Linked DNA regions of Homo sapiens: all the other regions are linked to region 1. The links are contacts of gene promoters, found by promoter capture Hi-C in blood cells and fetal thymus (Javierre and others, 2016). All regions are on one chromosome and are shown on one strand. Each heading gives the region's core, a stretch centred on a gene start or on the middle of the fragment in contact. The rest is flanking DNA. Distances are from core to core; before and after follow the strand shown.

Region 1 (2,700 bases), core at 35-2,534:
TTGTATCACAATCAGGTAAAAGTCACTTTAAACTGAGGAAACGGCAAATTGTGTTTTAAAGCTCTTTGTATTTCTCCAGTTTCTGACCTTGTAAATTTGTATATATGCACTAATAAAGCTTTTTTTATAATCCTGATGGGTTATCCTTTTGCTCGTCAACTCCTGTTATTCTGATTATGTAACCAGGACTTGTTTTTTTTTCTAAGCATATACAATGCAAGGTGCAAACATTTAACAACAGCTTTCAAGAAAATGAGCAGGAGATCTTTAATGGGGAGTGGTGGGGCCAGTTTAGACAAACAGGCTTCTAGTCCCAGATGGTGCTGTGTGATCAAAGTTTTGGGGTCTAATATTATCTATAATATCTAGATTGGTTAATAGCCATATTAGATAATATTTTACCTACTTAATTCCTGGCAATGATGTAATATGGTTAACATTTCAGAAAAAAAGGTGCTTTATAGCTTTTTTCCCCCCACTGATAAAAGTAACAGATACGGTTATATTCATATATAGTTAACCAAAGACACGTGTTTGAATTTTATTGTAGTATATTTATTTTTTTGTTGTTGGTTTTTTGTTTTTTTTTTTTCTGGAGACAGAATTTCGCTCTTGTTGCTCAGGCTGGAGTGCAATGGCACGATCTCGGCTCACCGCAACCTCCGCCTCCCAGGTTCAAGTGATTCTCCTGCCTCAGCCTCCCGAGTAGCTGGGATTACAGGCATGCGCCACCACACCCAGCTAATTTTGTATTTTTAGTAGAGATGGGGTTTTTCCATGTTGGTCAGGCTAGTCTCCAACTCTCGACCTCCCAAAGTTCTGGGATTACAGGCGAGAGCCACCGCGCCTGGCCTGGAGTAAATTTCTATGCATATAATTGATTTTTTTAAACCTAATCAAAATGTGTGATTTGAATTTGTTAGCTCTGTTTCTTAAGATTTGCAGTGTAGAAGGTAATTTTTCCTTTCTAGCTGTGCAGTGGAGAGAATGTTAAGGTGAAAGGAGAGAAGCAGCAGCTCTCTTAGAGCAAATTATGCATAACAGTTATCTAAAGCCAACAGCAAACCAGCTTGGAAGTATGTTGAAGGCTACTGGCATCGTACTCATCAATGCGGTTTCGATTCCGAGGCTGGGGCTGTGATGTATGAGGGGAAGAAAGCCGCTGCCCGCCATACATGTTGCAGACCTTCCCGGGGTCCCCGCTCCCTCCTTGGGGGCGAGGCCTAGCTCCCCGGAAGCGCCCGACCGCCCCGCCCTTTCTCCGCTTCCTGCTTTCGGTTGCTAGACTACCCGGGCCCTCACAGAAGGCGGTGGCGGGCGGGTGCAGCGAGTTTGTCCCCTTGCCCGCACACTGCTTGGCCTCTGTACTTAAGTGCGGTGGCCGCCTGCCTCGCTGGAGCTTCTCTGCCGCAGCCATCCGTGCTGCTTGGGACGGGCCGGGGCGCGAAGGCGGTCGCATCCATCGCTCTGCCCTCCTGGGAAGTTTCTGCTCTCCTTCCCCGCTCCTACCCTTAGGAAACCCCCTCACCACCTGCCCCAGACCAGGTTCCTCTGAACCCTAAATTCAATCTTTAGGGCCCACTTTCCCAACCCCCTGACCTTTTTCCATCGGCACCTACCGAGACGACTTCGTCGCGTGCTCCCATACCCATTTCTTTCACTTTCCTGTGGCGAGCATCTCCTTTCTCAGGGAAAGGGAAGCATGGGGCCAGCACCTTGGGAAGAAGAAGCGGGAAGATACGCTGCCCTCCCTGTCTCAGATGCACCTCTGGCCTCGGCGTGACCACCTTGTTTAGCTGAGGAGAAGCTGGGTTGGCAGGGTTTTCTGAAGTCAAGAGGGAGCTGGGGGGCGCCCGGGGAGGTATTGGCAGTTTTTTCACTTGTCCTCTTGTGGCTTTGTAGCTTCTCTTGTGTAATCAGCTGCCTATTTGGAAATTGGGCAGGGTTTGCGACTGGATGCTAATGTCACTGACTAGTTTTCAGCCTACCATCCAGAAGTAACATGTTCCCAGCTTTGGAAACGCACCTAAAGCAGGTCGGTACACAACACGGAAAGCCACAGAAATTTCTTCGGGGAACTCCATTTCTTCGGGAACTCCACAGAAATCTGCTACTAGATGAGAAGGGATGTTCTGGTGGCATCTTTTCTCAGCTGGAGATCTTGATCCCCACGATAGAATAATTCGCATGGAATGCAGCTCGCTTGGTTTAGTCTAGTCCTATGCAACAACGCTCATGTACTTTTTGTTGAGTCTATTATGGTTTGAAAACATTATCTTGATTGAAGTGGCCTTTCCTTTCACAGACTATTCCTGATCCTTATGAAGACTTTATGTACCGTCACCTCCAATATTATGGCTACTTTAAAGGTAATACCATGTTCTTATCTAGTATCACCTTTCCTGGACTCAAGAGGAAAATTGCTTCGTTAGCTGGGAGGGTTGCACTTGGGTAGACTAATAAATAATTTGCATTGACAAATAAATACTTTTTCCTCTACCATTAGTGAAAAGTACTTCCTTTCCCCATTGATCTGCGGGTCACCTCTGTCAAGTAGACAGCATCACTTAATACAAAGGTCTGTTTCTGGGCTCTCTATTCCATTGGTCTGTTTGGCTATCCTTTACCAGTATCACTGTCTCTTAATTACTATATGGCATTAAAATAGTCTTTATCTGGAAAGACATGTCTTCCCACCTT
Region 2 (2,700 bases), core at 26-2,525, 970 kb after region 1:
AGTCCTGCAAGCTCCATTCCTGGTAAATGTCCTATACAGGTGTACCATTTATCTTTTATACAACATTCTTACTGTACCTTCTCTATGTTTAGATACATAAATACTTTGTGTTAACATTGCCTATAGTATTCAGTACAGTAACATGCTGTACAGGCTTGTAGCCTAGGTGTGTGGCAGGTTATACCAACTAGGTGTTCACATAACAATGAAATTATCTAACAAATGCATTTCTCAGAATGTATCCCTGCCCTTAAGCCACACATGATGATATTTGTTAAATGATATAAATGAATGCAGTAACTAAGTTTAAGCTGAAATGTTACTGCCCCCACAGTGAAAAAGTCCCTATTCGAGAATTACTGCTCACAGGATCTAGAGACAAACAGAAGACTTAGGAGGTTTCAGTTATAGAAAATAGCTATCATGAGCCTTAAACCAAGACAAGACAGACCCAACTGCAAAAGTGCCCTCTCATCAGTTCTATGCTTAGTTCTTTCCGAGTTTAGTGACATTCACCTACTCTTACATTTGAGAATGTGTTTGCCTGTCAAAGCATGTCCCTTTGTGTTTTTCAGACCCTGATCATATCCACTCTCAGCCTGTATCTTGCTGGGCTGAAGCTTCAGTTAAATTTTGTTCTCTTAAATAGGAGTTCTTTTTTGTTTTTGACACCTTAAATTACGCCTTTCCAAGACTTTACAAGTGTTTTTATTTTTTGAGGTTTTTTTGAGATAGGTTCTCACTCTGTCACCCAGGCTGGAGTACAGTGGTGCGATCTCGGCTCACTGCAGCTTCTGCCTCCTGGGTTCAAGTGATTCTCATGTCTTGGCCTCCCGAGTAGCTGGGATTATAGGTGTGTGCCACCACCCCCAGCTAATTTTTGAATTTTTTTTAAGAGGGTTTCACCATGTTGGCCAGGTTGGTCTTGAACCCCTGACCTCTAAGTGATCCACCTGTCTTGGTCTCCCAAAGTGCTTGGATTACAGGCATGAGCCACTGTGCCCAGCCAGGGTCTCTTTTTGTTGCCCAGGCTGGTCTTTAATGAAAAAGACCTCTTAGGAGTTAAAGTGTGGTGTGCAGAATGTCCAACAGTATGCCACATGTAAACATACCATGGTTTGATCAGGGCAGGCATCCTATCCTTGTTTCCAAAGCCCTTTTTGGGGATGTTCAACGTGTGATAATTTTGGCCTAAACAGCACATTTGCAACCCAAGCATGTATTCCCACTGATTATTAAATTGATTTTGTGCCTTAGAGTATTCAGACATCTCATATTGCTGGCTTTTACATAATTCTTCATTCATTTTTCACCCCCTCAGAGGATTCTCCTCATCTTTACATTAAAGGAGTCCTTTTTCCCTGGAGTAACCTTTCTACTTTTCTATTTACCATAAGGCAGTGTTTCCTCCCAGTACCTTACCTTTGGGGCCTGTGGAATGCATTTGCATTGATACCAAGTGAAATATTTTAAAGGCCCGCATTGTATCATTGTTCATTCTCAGAAATTTAGGAAGTGTGATGGATTTTTTGTTGTTTTGGTTTTCCTCTCTCCTGCCAGAATATTGATCTTAGTGGTAGGGTTACAGACACTCCAGTTCTATGCCCTCTTTAGATAATTGTTGGACACCTTCTCTTCCCCATGAATACACCATAGCCTTGGACACCTTGCTTCCTTCACAGGTTCAAATGAGTTTCTCCTATGTGACATTGGTCCAAACTTAATCTAATTCTTCCAAACATTTAAGGTCCTCGGGTTTTTCAGTTGGGCAATTACAGTATGCTTAGGAGTAGCTTCAGCTTTTTGGATTGCCCAAGTCAGCCCTGGGATTACTGGAGTACAATCCCCTGCATAACCCAGGATGCAGATGGATGACCCAATTTACATTCTGCCTTTCTATATCAGTTTTTTGCATTCTCAAGAAGCTTATATTGTATATTTCAGAGCACCCTTATCACCAACTCCAGGTAGATTCTTGTGGAATTTGTCGTTTTCAAGTATAGGAAATTCTTAATTGTTCTTTTTGGTGGGAGATTAACCAAGGCACTTTAGAAGGGGGATATGTGGATATCTGAATATTCTTTCTACTTTTTCCCCTCTAGGCATCTCCCCTCAGATGGAAGTCACATGTGTGCCCACGCCCACAAGCACAGTGTCCTCCATAGGTAACACAAATGGGGAAGAAGTGGGGCCATCTGTCTACTTGGAAAGGCTAAAGATCCTCCGACAGCGATGTGGTCTGGACAACACAAAGGTACTGCTCCTTTTCTTCTGTGCAGTTCAGGGAGGGTAGTCACAAGCAGGTCCGAGGCAGGCTGGCCCACAGAGAAGTGGCTTAGTCTTGCTGTAGTTCTGGAGCTGCATCTTGACCTGCTTGACCTGACCTTAGACAATCTCTCTCCTTCTCTCAATAGCAAGATGACCGACCTCCTTTGACCTCTTTGCTCTCCAAACCAGCAGTTCCTACTGTCGCCTCTTCCACAGACATGCTCCACAGCAAACTCTCTCAGCTCCGGGAGTCACGGGAGCAGCACCAGCATTCAGACCTGGATTCTAACCAGACTCACTCTTCAGGAACTGTGACCTCCTCCTCCTCCACAGCTAACATAGACGACTTGAAAAAAAGACTGGAGAGAATAAAGAGCAGTCGCAAATGAAGCTGCCCCACTCCCCCGGCACCCTGCAGCTTTAGTTTACTAA
Region 3 (2,700 bases), core at 189-2,688, 930 kb after region 1:
TGACTTTGGTATTTACTCTTCCTTTGGAAGTAACCTTTAACCCTTAAACTCTTATTCTCTTATTTTACTTCAAGGCTGTTGAGCTAATGGACCGAACTGAAATGCCATGCCAGGCATTAGTGAGGATGCTAGCCAAGAAACCTGGATGGAAAGAAACTAATTTTCAGGTATTTTAAAATGTGAGATTTGATGTCTTTTATTGAAGTAATTTACATTACATCATCCTATGGAGTAATACAGCAGAATAGTTTTCGTAATGATTTTTTTTTTTTTGAGACGGAGTTTCGCTCTTGTTGCCCAGGCTGGAGTGCAATGGCACGACCTTGGCTCACCACAACCTCCACCTCCTGGGTTCAAGCAATTCTCCTGCCTCAGCCTCCCGAGTAGCTGGGATTACAGGCACCCGCTACCATGCCCGGCTAATTTTGTATTTTTAGTAGAGACGCGGTTTCTCTATGTTGGTCAGGCTGGTCTCGAACTCCTGACCTCAGGTGATCCGCCTGCCTTGGCCTCCCAAAATGCTGGGATTACGGGCGTGAGCCACCGCGCCCAGCTTGGTAATGATTTTTAATGAACAATGGGGTGTGTGCATTTTGATTGAACACATAACTACAGTTGACTCTTGAACAATGTGGTGATTAGGGGTACTACCCCTTGTGCAGTTGAAACTTCACATATAACTCTGGACTCCCCAAGAACTTAACTACTAATAGCCTACTGTTGCCAGAAGCCCTACTGATAACATAGTCAGTTAACATATTTTGAATGGTACATGTATTGTATATTGTATTCTTACAATAAAGTAAGCTAGAGAGAAAATGTGATTAAGAAAATCCTAAGGAAGAGAAAACATATTTACTATTTATTAAGTGGCAGTGGATCATCATAAAGGTCTTCAATTCCCATCATCTTCATGTTGAATAGGCTGAAGGAGGAGAAAGAGTAAGAAAAGGGGTTTGTCTTGCTGTTTCAGGAGTGGCAGAGGCAGAAGAAAATTCATGCATAAGTGGATCTTCGCAGTTCAAACCCATGTTGTTCAAGGGTCAACTGTATAACTTTATATAATTAGGAATTTATATGTGTATAAATATGTAAATATGTATACATCCATATATAATTTGTATAATTTAGATATATACATTTTTTTCTTCTCATTTTTAGGCCTAGAAGCCTCCTTATCCAATCTTTACATATTCAAGGGAGAAATAAACAGTGAGATAGCTTTTTTATTTGATAGGATAAAAAATAAGTGCAGTCCTTAAATTGCCAGTGAAAATTTACCACATAATCAATTGTATAGCCCCATTAACTGATAATAGAGCTGAAATTTAGCAGTACCAAGTTATTAGTCTAAGGGGTGGGTATAGAGGGAAGTATAGGAAAGTGCTGCAGGAAGGAAAATGAGAAAAAGTTTCCTTCTCTTTTTCTAGATGTACATACAATAGACCTCATGCTAAACAAACTTGAAATGTATCAGGTTTATTATTGGCATCCTGCTAGTCTCTTTTTGGTTTCTCTTCTGCTGCCACCTCTTGTTTTCTGTCTAGGATGTTTAGCTCCCTCATACACTGTGTGTCCCTTACATTGTGTTACATAGCACCTTATTCGTATAGGCCAGCTCCACAAAGGCTAAATATTCTAAAAGATTCTTGAGGTGCCCTCTTCCTCTCACACCACCTTCTTTTTTTTTGAGAAAGGGCTTCACTCAGTTGTCCAGGCTGGAGTGTGGTGGTGCAAACGTGGCTCACTGCAGTGTTGACACCTTAGGCTCCAGAGATCCTCCCACTTCAGCCTCCCAAGTAGTCGGGACCACAGGCGTGCATCACTACACCTTGCTAATTTTTTTCTCAAATTCATAGACAGTATGAAGTGTAATCTCATTGTGATTTTGATTTTCAGCCACCAAAGACTCTCTCCTTGGTTAACTTAATGACCAGCTAATGACTGGAGAGATTTTCTTAAATGCCTTGAACCAATGTGATCTGTCTCCCACCCTCTGCCAAGGGGGAAGGTGTGTATGTTTGTGTGTGTGTGCGCGCTGGGTCATGCCAGAGATACTCAGGCACTTTACAGCTTTACCCTGGAATTCACTTTTTAAGCAAGGTCTTGAAGGTCAGTCAGAGATTAGGGCCCTTTTCAGTCTTTCCTGGGCATACACATAACCTTGAATATTCGCATGACCTTCTAGATTCTCAAAGTCCTCTGTGGATATCTTATTCCCTAGGTCCTTTTATGTTTTTGACCAAGCTGGGTTCCCCCAGCTGGTATTATGGACTTACACAGTTCTGATGTTAGATGTTAAACAGTTGCCACTCATTGTTTTCGTTGTTTTCAACAAAATCCCTGGGGATAGGGCTTTTCCCACTGAGCTAGCCAGAGTCCAGTCAAATAACAGGACTTTCAAATGGAGCTTTTCTAGGAAGCTGCCAGACAAGACAGTACTTTGGGTCAAAACTTTTTGAGGAGGTCCAAACCTGAGCTGTCCCCCCACCTGCCAGTGGCTGCACAGCTCTAGGTTTTCATAGTTGCCATGGTTACAAGACTTCAGGTTTTGAAGGCTACTGTGGAGCTGGAAGAAAAGGGGAGCAAGGCAAGTTAAATCACCAGAAACCTCACTGTCCTTACTAAAATTCAGCATCCTTTCTTTAAATGGTTCTTGTATGTTACAAGCCTTATTTAATTTTCAGAGTTGTGAGATAA
Region 4 (2,700 bases), core at 192-2,691, 950 kb after region 1:
GGGTGGTGGTGGGCGCCTTTGGTCCCACCTACTGAGGAGGCTGAGTCAGGAGAATCACTTGAACCTAGGAGGTGGAGATTGCAGTGAGCTGAGATCACGCCACTGCACTCCAGCCTGGGCGACAGAGTGAGACTCCGTCTCAAAAAAAAAAAAAAAAAAAAAAAGATGTCATTAATATGGAAAGCTATAAATAGTGTTGAAGATTTCAAGAAAACAAAAACAAAAAGTTTGTGACCTAGACTAATGATCAGTAATAGCAGTTTTTCCAACTACATAACATGCCAGTCCAAGAACTAACCAACAGTTACTTAAGAATATTCTCAGAAAAATTTCTAGAGAACCTGTTCAAAAACATATACAAGATTCTGTGATGCATGTTTTTTTCATGTGAAATATCACGTAGAAAGATATCTCTGTTTTCTACAGTGCCCTTTTACTGGGCAGCAGCATCATATTCTTAAGGAGAAGTGGCCAAGCTAATCAGTATTCCCTGAACCTTGGTTGTAGAGTGCACAAGGGAAGAAGATGCCAAGCAAAACCAGCTTAAAGGAGGATGAAGACAAATCCGGGCCTATTTTTATTGTTGTTCCAAATGGAAAAGAGCAAAGGATGAAAGATGAAAAAGGATTGAAGGTAAGGAAGGATTAAGAATCGTCAGGAGATTTTTGCTTGTATTGTTATTCAAGAATAGTTTTGCTGTCTGAATTCATGTTATTGTTTAATATCTAGGAATTAAGTGTTTCTTTTGCTTATAAATTATATTATTTAGTTTATGGGAGCATTAATTCCTACAAAAGAAACTATAGAATAGAGTTATTGCCTATTTTTCCCTGTAAATAGAAATAAATGATTTAGTAGCTTTTTTGGTATCTTCATTGATTTTTTTTTTTAATTAATTGGATGTATAAGCTTCTTCATTAATCCTTCTTTTTAAGACCTTACAAGGCAGACTTTGTGACTGTATAAATGGCTAGTTCAGTCATTTATGTTACTTTGATTTCATTAGATACTTAAATTTGTTTTCAAAATACATAATCTTTTTTAAAAATTATATGCAGTACAGAAAGTGCAAAGTATAGTAAGAAAAGCATGTCTCTGTTCCAGTATCCCTCCACAGGGAGGATATTAGTCCTCATTTTTTCAATGTATTACTCCAGAAATATTTTATACCTCTACTATCATATGTATATTTTTATATAGCCCTCCTTTTATACAGATGGCATATACAGACATGCCGTACTGTTTGTTCTGTATCTCACTATTTTCTTTTAATGATGTTTGAAATATCTGAAAGATCATTCGTATCTGTGTATATATGTGTGTATCACTGTTTGTATTGGTGCATTGTATGTATGTACCTTTCTTTATCCTTCGCCCACTATGTTGGACATTTAGGTTGTTTCTGGTCTTTCACTATTACAAACACTGCTGCTGTGAATATCTTTGAATGTAGGTCTTTGTACACATATGTGAGTGTATCTATATTAAACTCCTAGAATGATGATATGCATAATTTTGATAGATATTTCAAATTTTCTCTCTATCAAAGATGTGGCAGCAGTGTCCACCATGTTATATAGTTATATGTAGGATTAATTTTTTTTTTTTCTTTAGTAAGAATTGCAAGGCCAGGCACAGTGGCTCATGCCTGTCATCCCAACAATTTGGGAGGCTAAGGCAGGCAAATTGCCTGAGCCCAGGAATTCAAAACCAGCCTGGACAACATATTGAGACTTCATCTCTACGAAAAAAATTTTTTAATTAGCTGGGCATAGTGGTGCATGTCTGTAGTCCCAGCTACTTGGGGGGCTAAGGCAGAAGAATCACTTGAGCCTGGGAGGTTAATGCTACAGTGATCTATGATCATGCCACTGCACTCTGCCATGCCCAGGCAACAGGTGAGACTCTGTCTCAAAAACAAACAATTCCAAAAATTTTTATTCCTAGAAGATTTTCAGAGTTGTTAAGCTTCAAGAAGTATGACACCTTGAAATTTGCATTCATATTTAATTACAAATGAATATTGTTGAATTTTTAAATATTTTATTGTTCCTGCAGCTGCATTATATAAGGCTCTCTACCTCATTTCAGTTGAACACCCTGTAGCCCCTTTTCACCGTTTGTTTTTTCCAGGTGCTAAAGTGGAATTTTACTACCCCACGGGATGAATACATTGAGCAACTAAAGACTCAAATGTCTAGCTGTGTGGCTAAATGGTTACAAGATGAGATGTTTCACTCAGACTTTCAGCATCATAACAAAGCCCTTGCTGTTATGGTTGATGTAAGTCTGCAATAGATAAATATACATGTATTTCAGACATGTAAAAATACCGAGCCCTATGAAATAATCTGAAGTTTGCATGACTTGGAAGTAGAATATACTATGTTCTCTATTTTTAGAGCTGTCTTGTTATTTGGTAGAATAAATGAATGTGTGTGTATATTTTTTAGGTCTTAATTGAAGGCTTAAAAATCTGTCATTTTCTTTTTGGGCTCCAATAAAATTTAAAAGACACTTGCCTAGTAGAATTAAGATTTTGATTATTCTTATTTGTGGGAGTTTTGTTTTGTTTTATTTTAAGCACTTGGAGAGTGAAAAAGAAGGAGTTATTGGTTGCCTGGATCTTATCTTAAAGTGGCTTACCCTGAGGTTTTTTGACACCAATACAAGCGTCCTGATGAAAGCACTAGAATATTT
Region 5 (2,700 bases), core at 189-2,688, 900 kb after region 1:
CAAGGTCTCGCTCTGTCACCCAGACTGGAGTGCAGTGGTACGATCTCAGCTCACTGCAACCTCCGCCCCTGGGTTCAAGCGATTCTCATGCCTCCAGCCTCCTGAGTAGCTGGGACTACAGGTGAGCACCACCACACCCAGCTAATTTTTTTTTTCTTTAATAGAGATGGGTTTCTCCATGTTGGTCAGGCTGGTCTGGAACTCCTGGCATCAAGTGATCCCACCTCGGCCTCCCAAAGTGCTGGGATTACAGACATAAGCAACCGCACCTGGCCTATAATCTTCTACCTTTAAATTACAAGTTTCTAGTCTGGAGTGCTGTGTACTCTGGTTATTTCATTTTTTAGCTAAACTGGGAGAATAAGGGTAGGAAAATAACAAGTTACGTATATCTCATGTTTTCTTCATAGATGTTGTTATGTAGTCCCATCCCTGTGTGGTTCTTTATTTGTCCTAAAGCATTTCAGAGTCTATAGTTTAACTAGGTAGCTCTCTGGGACCCTCAAGAACCTTGAGGCCAAACTGCTTGATCCTGGGTTCCAGAGCTTGCTAAAGCTTTGTTAGTGAGAGCTTCAGGTGACCAGAAACATTTGTGGTACCTAAAACAGGTTTCTAGTACCCTTTTGTGTTTTCTATAGTAATACGTTTAGTATCAAAATTAGGTTTTATTTTATTAAGGTGTCTATTTTCCATGTGGACTTGCTCCATCTTTTTTTTCTTACAGAAGGAGGCCAGGATAGAGAAAAAAGATTCAGATGAAACAGTAATAATATATAGGAAGATTTAAGAAATCTCAAATGTTAGGTTCTTCAGGCACCATGTTAAATATCCCTAAAACAAAATGGTTTATTGCCACTATAATTTCTTATTTTTTGTTTAATCTTAAAGGTCAGCTGAGCCAAGTTAAAATGTAATTTTTTTAATAATATAAAAGCATTTTAAAAAATCTTAGAGATTATGTAGGTTATTCTCATGATATTTGTACTTAAACTATATCACATAGCCAGGTATCTTATTAAAAATTCTTTTTTTATTGTGCCTGTAGTCCCACCAACTCAGGAGGCAGGAAGATTACTTGAGCCCAGGGGGTGAGGCTGCTGTGAGCTATGATTGTGTCACTGTACTCCAGCCTGGTTAACAGAGTGAGACACTATCTCAAAAATAATAATAATAATTAAGGCCAGGAGCAGTGGCTCATGCCTGTATTGTCCCAGCACTTTGGGTTGGGAGGCTGAGGCAGGCAGATTGCCTGAGCCCAGGAGTTCAAGACCAGCCTGGGCAACAAGGAGAAACCCCGTCTCTACAAAAAATACAAAAAAAAAATTAGCCGGGCATGGTGGTGCCCCTCTGTAGTCTCAGCTGCTTGGGGGACTGAGTCTGGAGAATAGCTTGAGCAGGGAAGGTCGAGGCTGCAGTGAGCTGTGATCATACCACTGCATTCCAGCCTGGATGACATAGTGAGACCCTGTCTCCAAAAAAGTAAAAACAAAAACCAAGAAAAAAAAATCGTTGGAGTACACTAGTAGCTATTACTGAGTAATTTTGTTGCATTTGCTCACATGAGATAAATTTGTGCACATTAGATAATAGATAAATAATAATTTGGGTCCTACTACTCATACAGAATTTCAGTGTTCTTTCATAAATAAATCTCTCCTGCTCCAGAATCTGATACTCACAAATGTTAATAGTGATATTAGATAGCTAAAATTGGCCAGTTGGGAACTTGAAAATGTAATCTATGACAGATATGTAAGGTTAAACACACTTTTTTTTAATTTTATTTTTTTTTTGAGACGGAACCTTGCTCTGTTGCCCAGGCTGGATGGAGTGCAGTGGCGCGATCTCGGCTCACTGCAACCTCTGCCTCCCGGGTTCAAGCGATTCTTCCACCTCAGTCTCCCAGGTAGCTGGGATTACAGGCGCCCACTATCGTGCCTGGCTAATTTTTGTATTTTTGTAGAGACAGGGTTTCACCATGTTGGCCAGGCTGGCCTTGAACTTCTGACCCCAGGTGATCTACCTGCCTCAGCCTCCCAAAGTGCCGGGATTATAGGTGTGAGCCACTGCGCCTGGCCAAATATGCTTTTTGAAAGAAGTCAAAATGCAACATTTTCCCCATAGAAAACTGAAGTAAAGAAAGATTTAAGATGCCCAGAGTTATAGTGTGATAGCCACAAAGTCAGGAACAAAATATTGCCAAGATTTGTGATCTATCTAGGTAAATGAATCACTTTAATTATAGGAGCTATTAAAGGTTTATTAAAAGTAGATTTCATTCATGTAAATATTTATAAACTAGTTTATATTTGTAAGCTTTTATATGTATATACATACATATTTGTGGTATTAGGCTGGGTGTGGTGGCTCACGCCTGTAATCCAGCACTTTAGGAGGCTGAGGCGGGTGGATCACCTGAAGTCAGGAGTTCCAGACCAGCCTGGCCAACATAGTGAAACCCCATCTCTACTAAAAATACAAAAATTTGCTGGGCGTGGTGGCGCATGCCTGTAACCCCAGCTACTTGGGAGACTGAGACAGGAGAATCACCTGAACTCAGGAGGCAGAGGTTGCAGTGAGCTGCAATCATGCCATACCACTCTAGCCTGGGCAACAAGAGCAAAATGCCATCTGAAAAAGAAAAAAAAAGGGTATTAAACATGTTGATCCTTTATAGGTTTTAATTATTCCTAGTCTGCT

Evidence for each region. The method cuts DNA at HindIII sites, captures the fragments that hold promoters and counts their contacts. A CHiCAGO score of 5 or more calls a contact.
Region 2: a contact is called between a fragment that was not itself captured here and the fragment with the promoter of AGBL2 in region 1, in 1 of 17 cell types (erythroblasts). The highest score is 6.1, in erythroblasts.
Region 3: a fragment that was not itself captured here is called in contact with the fragment with the promoter of AGBL2 in region 1 in 1 of 17 cell types (monocytes); the score reaches 6.0 in monocytes.
Region 4: a contact is called between a fragment that was not itself captured here and the fragment with the promoter of AGBL2 in region 1, in 1 of 17 cell types (erythroblasts). The highest score is 5.1, in erythroblasts.
Region 5: a fragment that was not itself captured here is called in contact with the fragment with the promoter of AGBL2 in region 1 in 3 of 17 cell types (monocytes, fetal thymus and M0 macrophages); the score reaches 8.8 in monocytes.

The regions. Positions count from the first base shown.
Region 1 is chr11:47,713,953-47,716,652 of GRCh38, reverse strand. It overlaps AGBL2 (AGBL carboxypeptidase 2), which reads left to right and starts at 1,284. Exons shown (of 19, transcript NM_024783.4): 1 at 1,284-1,478; 2 at 1,903-2,035; 3 at 2,306-2,369. The coding sequence starts at 2,003. FNBP4 (formin binding protein 4) reads left to right here. Exons shown (of 17, transcript NM_015308.5): 17 at 1-159. RefSeq lists an enhancer at 1,547-1,606. The HindIII fragment of the contact is 6,151 bases long and covers 121-2,700 here.
Region 2 is chr11:46,743,980-46,746,679 of GRCh38, reverse strand. It overlaps CKAP5 (cytoskeleton associated protein 5), which reads left to right. Exons shown (of 44, transcript NM_001008938.4): 43 at 2,103-2,254; 44 at 2,415-2,700. The coding sequence ends at 2,657. Among named protein-coding and RNA genes, the nearest start is that of MIR5582, 7.9 kb to the left of the region's middle. The HindIII fragment of the contact is 1,305 bases long and covers 623-1,927 here.
Region 3 is chr11:46,786,148-46,788,847 of GRCh38, reverse strand. It overlaps CKAP5 (cytoskeleton associated protein 5), which reads left to right. Exons shown (of 44, transcript NM_001008938.4): 16 at 75-167. Among named protein-coding and RNA genes, the nearest start is that of SNORD67, 25 kb to the right of the region's middle. The HindIII fragment of the contact is 5,506 bases long and covers 1-2,700 here.
Region 4 is chr11:46,763,064-46,765,763 of GRCh38, reverse strand. CKAP5 (cytoskeleton associated protein 5) reads left to right here. Exons shown (of 44, transcript NM_001008938.4): 28 at 508-633; 29 at 2,134-2,283; 30 at 2,585-2,700. Among named protein-coding and RNA genes, the nearest start is that of SNORD67, 1.9 kb to the right of the region's middle. The HindIII fragment of the contact is 1,059 bases long and covers 912-1,970 here.
Region 5 is chr11:46,811,428-46,814,127 of GRCh38, reverse strand. The region is part of intron 4 of CKAP5 (cytoskeleton associated protein 5); the gene reads left to right. Among named protein-coding and RNA genes, the nearest start is that of CKAP5, 34 kb to the left of the region's middle. The HindIII fragment of the contact is 1,761 bases long and covers 558-2,318 here.